Regions from separate parts of the Homo sapiens genome. Here region 1 is linked to region 2. Evidence: promoter capture Hi-C in human tissues and cell types (Jung and others, 2019). All regions are on one chromosome and are shown on one strand. Each heading gives the region's core, a stretch centred on a gene start or on the middle of the fragment in contact. The rest is flanking DNA. Distances are from core to core; before and after follow the strand shown. Region 1 has its middle 28 kb from the start of OR10D3. Region 2 holds the start of VWA5A (von Willebrand factor A domain containing 5A).

What was found. The method cuts DNA at HindIII sites, captures the fragments that hold promoters and counts their contacts. A contact is called where the count stands out against the background at its distance.
Region 1: a contact is called between a fragment that was not itself captured here and the fragment with the promoter of VWA5A in region 2, in 2 of the 25 tissues and cell types used here (H1 embryonic stem cells and thymus).

What each region holds. Positions count from the first base shown.
Region 1 is chr11:124,208,804-124,213,614 of GRCh38, reverse strand. It overlaps the pseudogene OR8G3. Among named protein-coding and RNA genes, the nearest start is that of OR10D3, 28 kb to the right of the region's middle. The HindIII fragment of the contact is 4,968 bases long and covers 1-4,213 here.
Region 2 is chr11:124,113,349-124,118,397 of GRCh38, reverse strand. VWA5A (von Willebrand factor A domain containing 5A) reads right to left here and starts at 2,948. Exons shown (of 19, transcript NM_001130142.2): 1 at 2,916-2,948; 2 at 1,718-1,832; 3 at 844-901; 4 at 523-725; 5 at 1-209. The coding sequence starts at 886. The HindIII fragment of the contact is 8,575 bases long and covers 1-5,049 here.

The DNA of each region.
Region 1 (4,811 bases), core at 480-2,979, 96 kb before region 2:
TAAATATAAAACTAGTCAACAGTGTGATGTGGATTTTCAAAAAAGGCTAATACATATTTACTTTTGCAAAGAAAATTAGTAGATTCTAGATGAAAGAAATTTATGGTCTTATGTAACACTCCAGCAATAGCTGGATTAGTGTTTTCAGTTTAGGGTTTAATATTTTATGTGGAATATAGAAAAACTGGACAATATCAGAAACATGATCTAAAAATATTGTCATTTGAATAATGACTGACATAACTGAGGTTTTAGCTAGCACAATATAAATATATGTGGCACATGGCATTTATATCCAAATGTTCAAAATATCTAAGAGGTATAGGGCTCCTTGTATATGTCTCTAAGAGAGAAAAAATAAAAACTAAGTGCTTCAAATGATGGAGAGAAATATTTGGTTTCACAACAAAAAAGAACATTCCAAAAGTCAAACACACCTTAATTTACTTATAGCCAGAAATGTCAGAGTCAGCTTGTATAACCATTTAGCAGACATTATTCAAGGACACAGCATGAGATGGGTGCTTGAATTCAATCAGCTTTAATATATCTTCTGGTTCCAATATTTCATGATTTAAAATTCTAATGGGCTATGATATTAGATCAGGCAGTCTGGGTTAAAATATCATCTCAACCATATACATGCTGTGTGATCTTGAGAAAATTACTTCTCGTCTTCAGGCCTCTAAAAAGTAGAAATGTTAATATCATTCTCATGTAAAAATCAAAAGACGCATAGTTCCCATCTGTTGGTAAGAACTTAATAAATGTCAGTGTTATTTTAACTGTAATCTATTGAGCCTTCTCTGAAATATTTTTTATTTGCTCAAATTTTTATTCCAATAATGATGGCTGAAGGTTTTTTCCCTCCCTCAGCATATCTTGTTTTTGCTCCTTCCTACATGGATACACATATTAACACAGAGATTCAGAATTATTTTTTTTACTGAACAGTAACCTCTTTAAATCAGCACTATTTTTCATTTCCTCATAGGAAGCTCAAATCAATATCTCTTATTCAAAGATTGTTATCATCTGGCAACCAAAATAAAAGTTTTCTTCTTTTATGTCCCAACAAGTACTATATGATTTGGCTATTACATGATTTGGCCATTTGGTACTCTCTCAGTTTTAACTCATGATGCCCCTTTAATTTTTCTCTTTGTCTATCATCTGTAGCCTATGACATCCTATTTAATAGTTAAGGCTCTTTAGTTAAGGGCTTTAATAGTGCAAACTCTACTTAATAAGGCCATTTAATAGTGCAAACTCTACTTAATAAGGCCATTTTCTATGTCCATACATATATTTCTTATGTTTACATGTAACACTAATTTCATTCTATGTTATTATTATTTATTTATTTGCTTTTCTTCTGTACTAGACTATAAATTCAATATAGTGCTTGGTGTAGTGCCTTGCATATAGCAACTCAATACATATATGTTCAATAAAATTGCTCAAAGAAGCTTAGAGATATGTAAATATGGATTCAAAATAACTGAATAAAAACCCTCTTACTGCCTGAATTGAAATGAGTAAACACAGAAGTGTTTGTCATAAATGTATATTGCAGAGAACAAGTAGATGACAAGGGAACCACTGCTCATCAAGGCATGTGAATGTGAGAATAAGGACAGGGAGAGACAGATGAATAGCTGTGTGCATCTCTCTTTGCACTGCGAAAGAAGCTGGAACAGGAGACTCCAAGATTTTAAAGTCAAAGACTGGGACTCATACATACCCATCCTTTCTGCCAGGGTCCAGGGTTGTACATTTTTCTTCTCCATTGCTCTGGAGGGAAAAATGAATCTGATGGTACGAGGAGGTCATAGCCCAAAAGTCTCCTTGGCAATTATTTTGAGTCATTCATCCTGATCTCTGACAAAGCTGATGCCTAAAGCCATCTGGCACTCTGCAAAGGGTGGCTGATGTGAGGATTTTATATGCTGGGTAAGAGTAAGAGTCTGATAGGGAACAAACAATGATAATGATCTCCCTCTAGATTCTATTCCCACAAATGTCAGCTCTTGGGAAAAGAAACAATTAGAATTTCCCTTTCCCCCTCTTGGTTCTCAAGTGTTTCCCTATTGGCATATGTTGTGATTCATTGTTCTTGTAATATTACAGATTGGAAATGAGGATGTGAGAGACTTTGTTGGAGCTCTAGTGAGTTTCATCTCTTTAGTGAGACAATGAAAAGTTCAAAATTTCAGCCAATTTTTAAAACATACATTAAAGGAATTGTCTAAAGTGATTTGTCACAAGGGGAAAATAGAAAATCAGAAATAACAACAAATGTTTCTAAAATTTGAAAGTTTTCATTTTCATTTACCTCTACTAATGATATTTTGATATCATGATGTATTCATAAAACAGTAATGCTTGAAATGTTTTAACTTGAGGGCTGTTTCCTTTCAGATCAATGAAGAAGAAAATGCTTTCATTCAGTCCCCAAGTTAAAATATGATAGATATTGCCAAGACCCTGAGGAGTTCCTAGTAAGCCTAACAAGGAGAGTTGATGACTTTTTTCATCAAAAAATAAGAATGATATTGAGGAACAATAAAGACATATGTGTTACAGAAGTTATTTTTGTACTTATATAAAACTAAATTATTTTGGAAGTAAAATTATATTTCATGTTTTGTTAAACGTTATATTGATGGCAAAAGTAGGCCATCCAGAACCGCCGCTACCATGGTGCCAGCTGCAGTGGGGAGGCCAGCGGTTGTGGCAGGAGAGGCTGCAGGGGCAGCAATAACGGTGGTGGGACCCCTGTCCCCCATGTCTCCAAGGCAGGCAACTGAGCCACCCCCACCTTTGCATGACCAGGTAAGACCCACCCCTAGGCCTAGAGACTCTGTGGCTCCTGACCCTGGCCCCATGTCACCACTCTTGCCTGCCACTGCTGTGGGGAGGGGCTGGGGAGGAGGCAGACAGTCTCTGGACCCCGCCCCTGGAAGCCACCTGGAGCCTGTCATGGTGGGGACCACCACGAAGGGGCTGGGCCGAGTTTCCTGGTGGGGGAGCAGCACGGTTGGGCATGGAGGCCTGGCAGAGATGGCCCCGAGGCAGAGCTGGGCCCAGCATGGTGCTGTGGTTGGAGATGGAGTGTGGAGGATGGGCCAGAGGTAACATCTGCTTTGGGGACCTGGCCAGTGGCATGGCCACCATGCCCACCTTGCTGATGGTGCCAGGTTCCTGTGCCCTGAGAAAAGGCTCTGCACTGGGGGTTGAGTCTCAGGGGTCTGCCCTGCATCTGGACAACCACCAAGCCTGACACTCCTGACCTCTAGTCCCAGGACCTGAAATCGGCTCCTAGAGGTGCCCCTGAGGCAGGGTCACAAGCTGACCAAGTGGGAGCCCTGGGCCACCCCTGAGCACCAGGGCCATGGGAAGAACTTATGTTGATGTCACTCCTGCCCTGGATGCCAGCCCAGGCCCAGCAAGGACTTGGAGCCCCTGCCCCAGGCTTAAAGGAGGCGTGGCTGGGGCTGCATGCTGCAGGGCCAAGGATAAGCAGGAGTCCGGCCCCTTCCAAGCTGGCAGGGTGGGAACTCCCTGGGTGCAGCTGCAGCCATCCTGCCATGTCTGCTGTGGCTGCAGGCCCAGGCATCTCTGCAGACTTGGGGGCCTGGGAAGGCTCCCCTGGCCCTCGGTGGGATGAGGGTGCCTGCTCCCTCTGCCTGGCTTCTCTCTGCTGTTGGTGCCAGCTCTGAGTCAGGACCAAGCCCGGGCATTGTTGTAGCCCAGCCGGGGGTGCACATGCTCAGGCAGGCTCCTGGGCAGAAGGTGGCGGGTCCTTGGTGAAGCCCTACCTCCAAGCTGGAGAGGGCCTGAAGCTTGGGGATGGGGTCACCAGTCCCACAGACCAGAGGGGGAACTTATGGTGCTTTTCCCTACGGCGACTCATGGACTAATCAGTACACGTTTTCTCCCCTCTGAGGCCCATAAAAACCCCAGAGTCGGCCAAACTGGAGCAGAGGATGGAGAGACAAAGGGAGATGATGAGATGACCAGCTGCAGAGAGGAGCTGACCACCCCAGGGTTTCCTGTCTGCTGAGAACCAAGGAGATGATAGGACGACCAGCTGCAGGGAGAAACTACCCTCTCTGCTAAGAGCTGGGCACTTGACGGGATGACCTGCCTAGCAGAGAGGAGATACCCTCTCTGCTGAGAGCTGAAGAGATGACTGGGTGACCACCTGCAGAGAGGAACTACCCTCTCTGCTGAGAGCTTGACACTCATTGGGAAACCCTGCTATGGAGAGGAGCTGCCCATTGCAGGTCTCCTCTGAGCTGTTCTATTGTGCGATAAAGCTCCTCTGTGTCTTGCTTACCTTCCACTTGTCTGCGTGCCTTATTCTTTCTGGTCTCAGGACGAGAACCTGGGACCCACTGAATGGCAAGGCTAAAAGAGCTGCAACAGAAATAGGGCTGAAACATGCCCCTTGCTCACCATGTTGTGGGTGAACAGGAGAGAAGAGCTGCGGCCCTTTGGGGATCCCAGACCTGGGAGCTCCCCGAGACAGCACTGTGACTTCTTCTTTGGGGCCCTGCAGTTCCTGGTGTCTCCAAGCTTTTAGGTGCCACCACATTCCCCGGTGCCAGCTGAGGAAGCTGCTTGCAGTGCACCTAGTCCAGCTGCAGCCTTGCAGAGAGTGTCAGCACCTGGAGCTGCCCATCCCGCAACAGCAGCTGGTGTGTCTGATGTAAGCAATGGCCAGACCCCATGCTCACTCACACACCCCCCACTATTCCACGCCTGACGCACAGTCTCCCTTGAAGGTGTGAGACCCAGGCCGGTAG
Region 2 (5,049 bases), core at 1,699-4,198:
CTAGGATTCAGGACAGCTGGGAGCACAAAGCGCAGAGCCCCATCTGCTTCCAGAGGCAGCTCCTGCACATACTTCAGGGTGACTGCCGCCTTCGACCCAGGTTGGAGGTTACCCACATTGCAAGAGAAGACATCCCTGGAGCTGCTGTCCCCCTCCAATAAGAAGGCCTGGTGGCCCTGGGAGATGGCTTTCTCATAGTTGGTGCGGGCCTGAGAAGCACAGGGCGAGGGATGGGAAAGAAAGGGAACATCCAAGGTGACATGGCTGAAAAAGAGACGAGCAGTGCAGAGCGACTGTGTGATTGGTCTTGTCTAATCACAGCTATACTCTGAATGCCTCTGATTGATTTCTTTCCCCAAATGATTTTAGAAAAATGGCAGTTAGAAAAGAGTGGAAGAAAGAGCTTTCAACATCAGCATGTTTTGTGAAGGTACATTTAGTAGAGATCATAAAGAGTATGCATTAAGGAAATAAGAAGGGAGGAGGTAATGTAATAAGAAGGGAGGAGGTAATCTCTACTACCTTCATCTTGTCTTGTAATTCTGCTACAATTTTCTTCCCATCCACCAAGGCCTCAAAGCTGTAAACAGCAGAGTCTTCATCCATGGGGAACACAAAGAAGGCCTCCAAAGGAACTTTCTCCTCATTCTCGTAGTTCAAAGTTGCAGACACACCAGCCACAAACTCGTAAATGTTCACGCTCACAGAGATACTCTTCAGCGGCACTGGAGATAGACCAGAGTTCAAGTTCATCAAGCTTCAATAGATTGCCTCCTTGTAGATCAAGCCTTGTGATAGGTGCCAAAGATTCAATGGCAAGTAAGAGTCACAAATTAGGCTTACCTGGCTCCCGGTGGAGGGTGAGTAGGCCACAGAAGTGCACCATGGTGATGCAAGATTTCTGCAGAAAAGACATATCACAAACAGAGGACATGTTGGAAGTTATCTGTTCAAACACCAGTACTTTATGTGCCTTTCTCTGGCATAAGAATACATTCAAAGGGTTAATGTTGGAGTTAGGAAGTTGGAACCTTTAAAAAAAAGGAGACAAAGATTTCAGTCATAAGGGTCCTTTTAAATGGCAGTCCCAGGTGGGGAAGGTGTAAGATTCACTGGTATCTACTAAACAGGAAATCTCTGAAACACCCTGAGGCTGGTTCAAATACCAATTCCACTTTCTCAAAAGTGTATTTAATTCACCACTCCTTGGGCATATGGAGTAGGTGTCACTAATCCCTCTGAGCCTCAGTATTTTCTTTCCAAAATGAGTAGTATAATATCCACACATCGTATGTGAATTAATACATGTGAAGTCCCTACAATAGCACATGGGCCATAGGAGGCATTTAATCAATGATGACAGACATCACTATTGTCCCTATTATTGTTGTTACTGTTAATCAATAAACCTCTGCCACCATTCACTTTGGATCATGGCATTCAGAGACGCGCTGCATGTGAGAAGCTGTGTGATTCAAGATGGACTCCTGCCACAGGCCATTTACCTTGTGGCTTTTCTTTTGGGACCCAAAATTAAAAGATACGAGTATATTTGTTTGTATCCATCCAAGATATTCTAATATATTTAAATATTATATAGGCACATAGCCTACATTTGCACCCCCACTAAACAGCACCAATAAATCAGGCTTTTCATTCCATATCTGTTTTTATTTTGAGAAATTGGATAAAAACTGAGTGTGGCAAAATGACTCACAATTCGACAGCAACGCAGAGGACAGTGGCAGGTGTGAGGAGAGGAGAGGATGCTCAGAAAAGGGCTTCTACGCAGACCTCTGACCTGGGCAAGTTCTCTGGTAGAACAGGCTGGGCTGGGGGAGGGAAGAATTTCTAATAACACATTAAGCAGAGAGCCTAAAGCAGGAGACTCACACAGGAGTAAAACAGCTGAAAGAGAAGCTCTCAGGCTGGGCAATACTCACCAAGGTGGCTAGAGTAAAAGAGAGAGAGACGCAAAGGGCACCCCTACAAGGAAATAGCCTTCGCTTCCTGATTCTAAGCTCAGAACAAATCCTCCGTTGAGGAAAACTTGCTATTCTGCACCCTTGCCCCCACTCTTCCCAGTACAAACAAAATTAGTTTGGGTCAGAATTAGTTCTGTCTCTCAGGATGGCACTTCAGAAAGGCAACTTGCAAGGCTTAGGTAGAGACTGGCCACCAAGCTGAAAGCCATGAATCTGAGGCAGCTGGGAGAATACAAGGCTTCCGGCCTAGCCAGGTAGCTGCTTCAGGAATGCAGAGTCCCAGCACCAGCCGCTCAGCAGCTAGGAGGGTGGGAGGGGAGCTGGGTGGCACCACCGGCCACACACACCCCTGCGGCCTGTGGCAGGGGTGAAGTGGAGAACTCGGAACCAGACAAGGAGGAGATTTGGGGTAAGAAGTGGGGCTTGGATAAAATCAGAGATTGATTTAACCTTTCCATTCAGTCCTAGATTTCCAATGTCCACGTATTTACAGAAGAGACTGCGTCGGTCTCTTACATTTCTATAGAGAAGGGCTTAGGGGCTGCAACTGATTGGAGTAGATGAGGCTTACAGCCTCATTTCCTCAGCTTACACTATCCTGAAACTGAGAAAACATCAATTGTCTATATCAAAGAAAGAAAGCGGGAAAAAAAGTAAAGTAAAAGAGAAGGAAAGTAGGAAGAAGGGCCTTGAGATTAGGAGATGGCTAAATCCCTCCTTCAACCTCCAAAAGATTCCCCTAAACTGCCAAACTTGCAGGAACCTTCCTGGGGATCATACATCAGGATGAAATCCTCCACCCATGGGGCGTGCAATTCAAGGAGCCCCTACAAATTTGGGGACTGGGGAAAGGGAGCTAGAATGTGGAGCTCTCAGTCTTCCAGAGCAGGGGTTGGATCCAGGCCCTGCACCGGTAGCTTGGTCCCCTACCTTCCTCTCCTGCAGCCCGGAGCGCTCTGAGTCACAGCGGAGTGAAAACAGCTGCAGTCATAATTTCCGGAAAGAACCGCCCCCTTCTAGGGACCGGTTATAAAGTAGCGACTACAAGACTAAGGGATCAACGGAAAATTATTGAACAAATAATCGAACTTTCGCTTGTTTGTATCAAAGGAAAAGTCTTCGACTTTGGAACGTTTGGTTTTTTTCTTTGCTCTTTGCTAAGGAACAATCAGAGAACAGGCAAAGAGGGCAAGGGAAAATGCTGCAACAGGAACAACAACAATGACATTAAAAACTGCATATTTTTGTAAAAGCTTAATTGCCAAAGGCTTACTGTGTCCTGGGCCCTGTTAATCAAAGCTTTATGGAGATTATATCATTGACACCTTATCTCTAATGTGAGTCATTTTCCCCCAAGTTGCCCCTCCCCTACAGCAGGGGGAAAGATAAGGAGATAGTGCAAGGCACACACATCTGCTCTAATGAGAGAAGCTCTAGCCAGGGAAGCCCAAGTCTTCCTGTCATGGGTCGCTTATGGGATCCTGAAACCAAATGTTTGGGTTAACGATGTAAGTAACTGAGAATGTCTATGCTCATTTACCTGGCTAAAGGACATTAGAAGCGATCAAGGTCCCCATGGCTTCTCTATTTCAAAACAACCTATTAAATCTGAGACTTAAAGTGTCATATTGCTGTCGAGAATCTATAGGATAAAGAATACATGATACATATGGAAAACACAGCTTGATTTTGGTCTCTGTGATGTATTTTTTGTGGATATACTTGTTATATACTGGTTATATACTTGTTTTTGTGAGATATTTGTTATATACAAATAACTCTCCCCAAGTTATTTGTTCTCTCATCTGAAACGGGGATAATGACAAACCTCCACTGATTGTTTTTGTGAGATCTAATGAATCTTAGTGGCTATAAAAGTTTTATATATATATATATATATATATATATACACACACACACACACACACACACACATTTATATACTTTATATATATACACCCACATACACATTTATATACATGGATGTGCATGCATAGATGTATATATGTGTATATATGTACACCCATGCATGTATATACAGTTACATGCATGTAATATATGCATATATAGTAAAGCATAATATAAGCACAAATTCTATTTTATCAGTACTAGGCCCTACAACCATGTTTTTTACATGTACTGAACTAATTATGAGAGGAAATTATCCTTTTCTCTGGAGAGAAATCATGTCTGGTATTGTTCCTTGTGACTGTGCCTTCTTTCCATTGGCCGAAACATCTGAGCAACAAAAGGGAGGAGCTGGAAACGTGGGCAGAGTTCATCATCTGATCCTGCTGGGCTTAGAGCTTAGCACTAAAAGTCTGCCACAGACCAGGCATGCAGCGTGGTTAGAGGGCACTGAATCAGGAAACACACAGAAGTTGCTGGTTGTTGAAAAAACAACTATGTGAAAATTCCCATAACCTAGCACAATATACACAATTAAACCGATATAGATGAGATATCTTCACTTAAAAGTCTGTCTTAGTGTTGCCAGGCATTCCTCAAGGTTGATTCTCACCTTCTTTTTTATACTAACAGGAACCCCAAGTTTCACAATGTCTATGACCATTCAGAATAAAAACATTGCCTAGCCTCCCTTAAAGCTGGTGTGGCCTTGTAACTAAGCTCTGGCCCATAGGGTACAAGAAATAAGTGCAACACCATGTCATGCCCTTTCAAAGAAAAGAGGATGGCTTCCCATTCACTTTACCCTCTTCCTGCTCATTGGTGTGAATGCAGGTAACTGAACCAGCTTGAACCATAAAGACTAGATCATAAAGCCTGGAGCATTTCCCCTAAAAATGGAGAAGCAACAAGACAGAAAGATCCTGAGCCCCTGAGACTCTCATAGAGCAAGCCACTGTATCATCACAGAATTTTACAGGATAAAGTAACAAATTTCTCCATGGTTTATAACAGCTCTTTGGGTCCTTATCTTACCCTAATACATTTGATTATGATTAATTAAAAAGTAGACTTTTAAGGAAACTATCTTCTTCAGAATATGAAAAGCACATTTGCTTATAATGGAAATAGAAATCTGCATATTATGAGAACAATA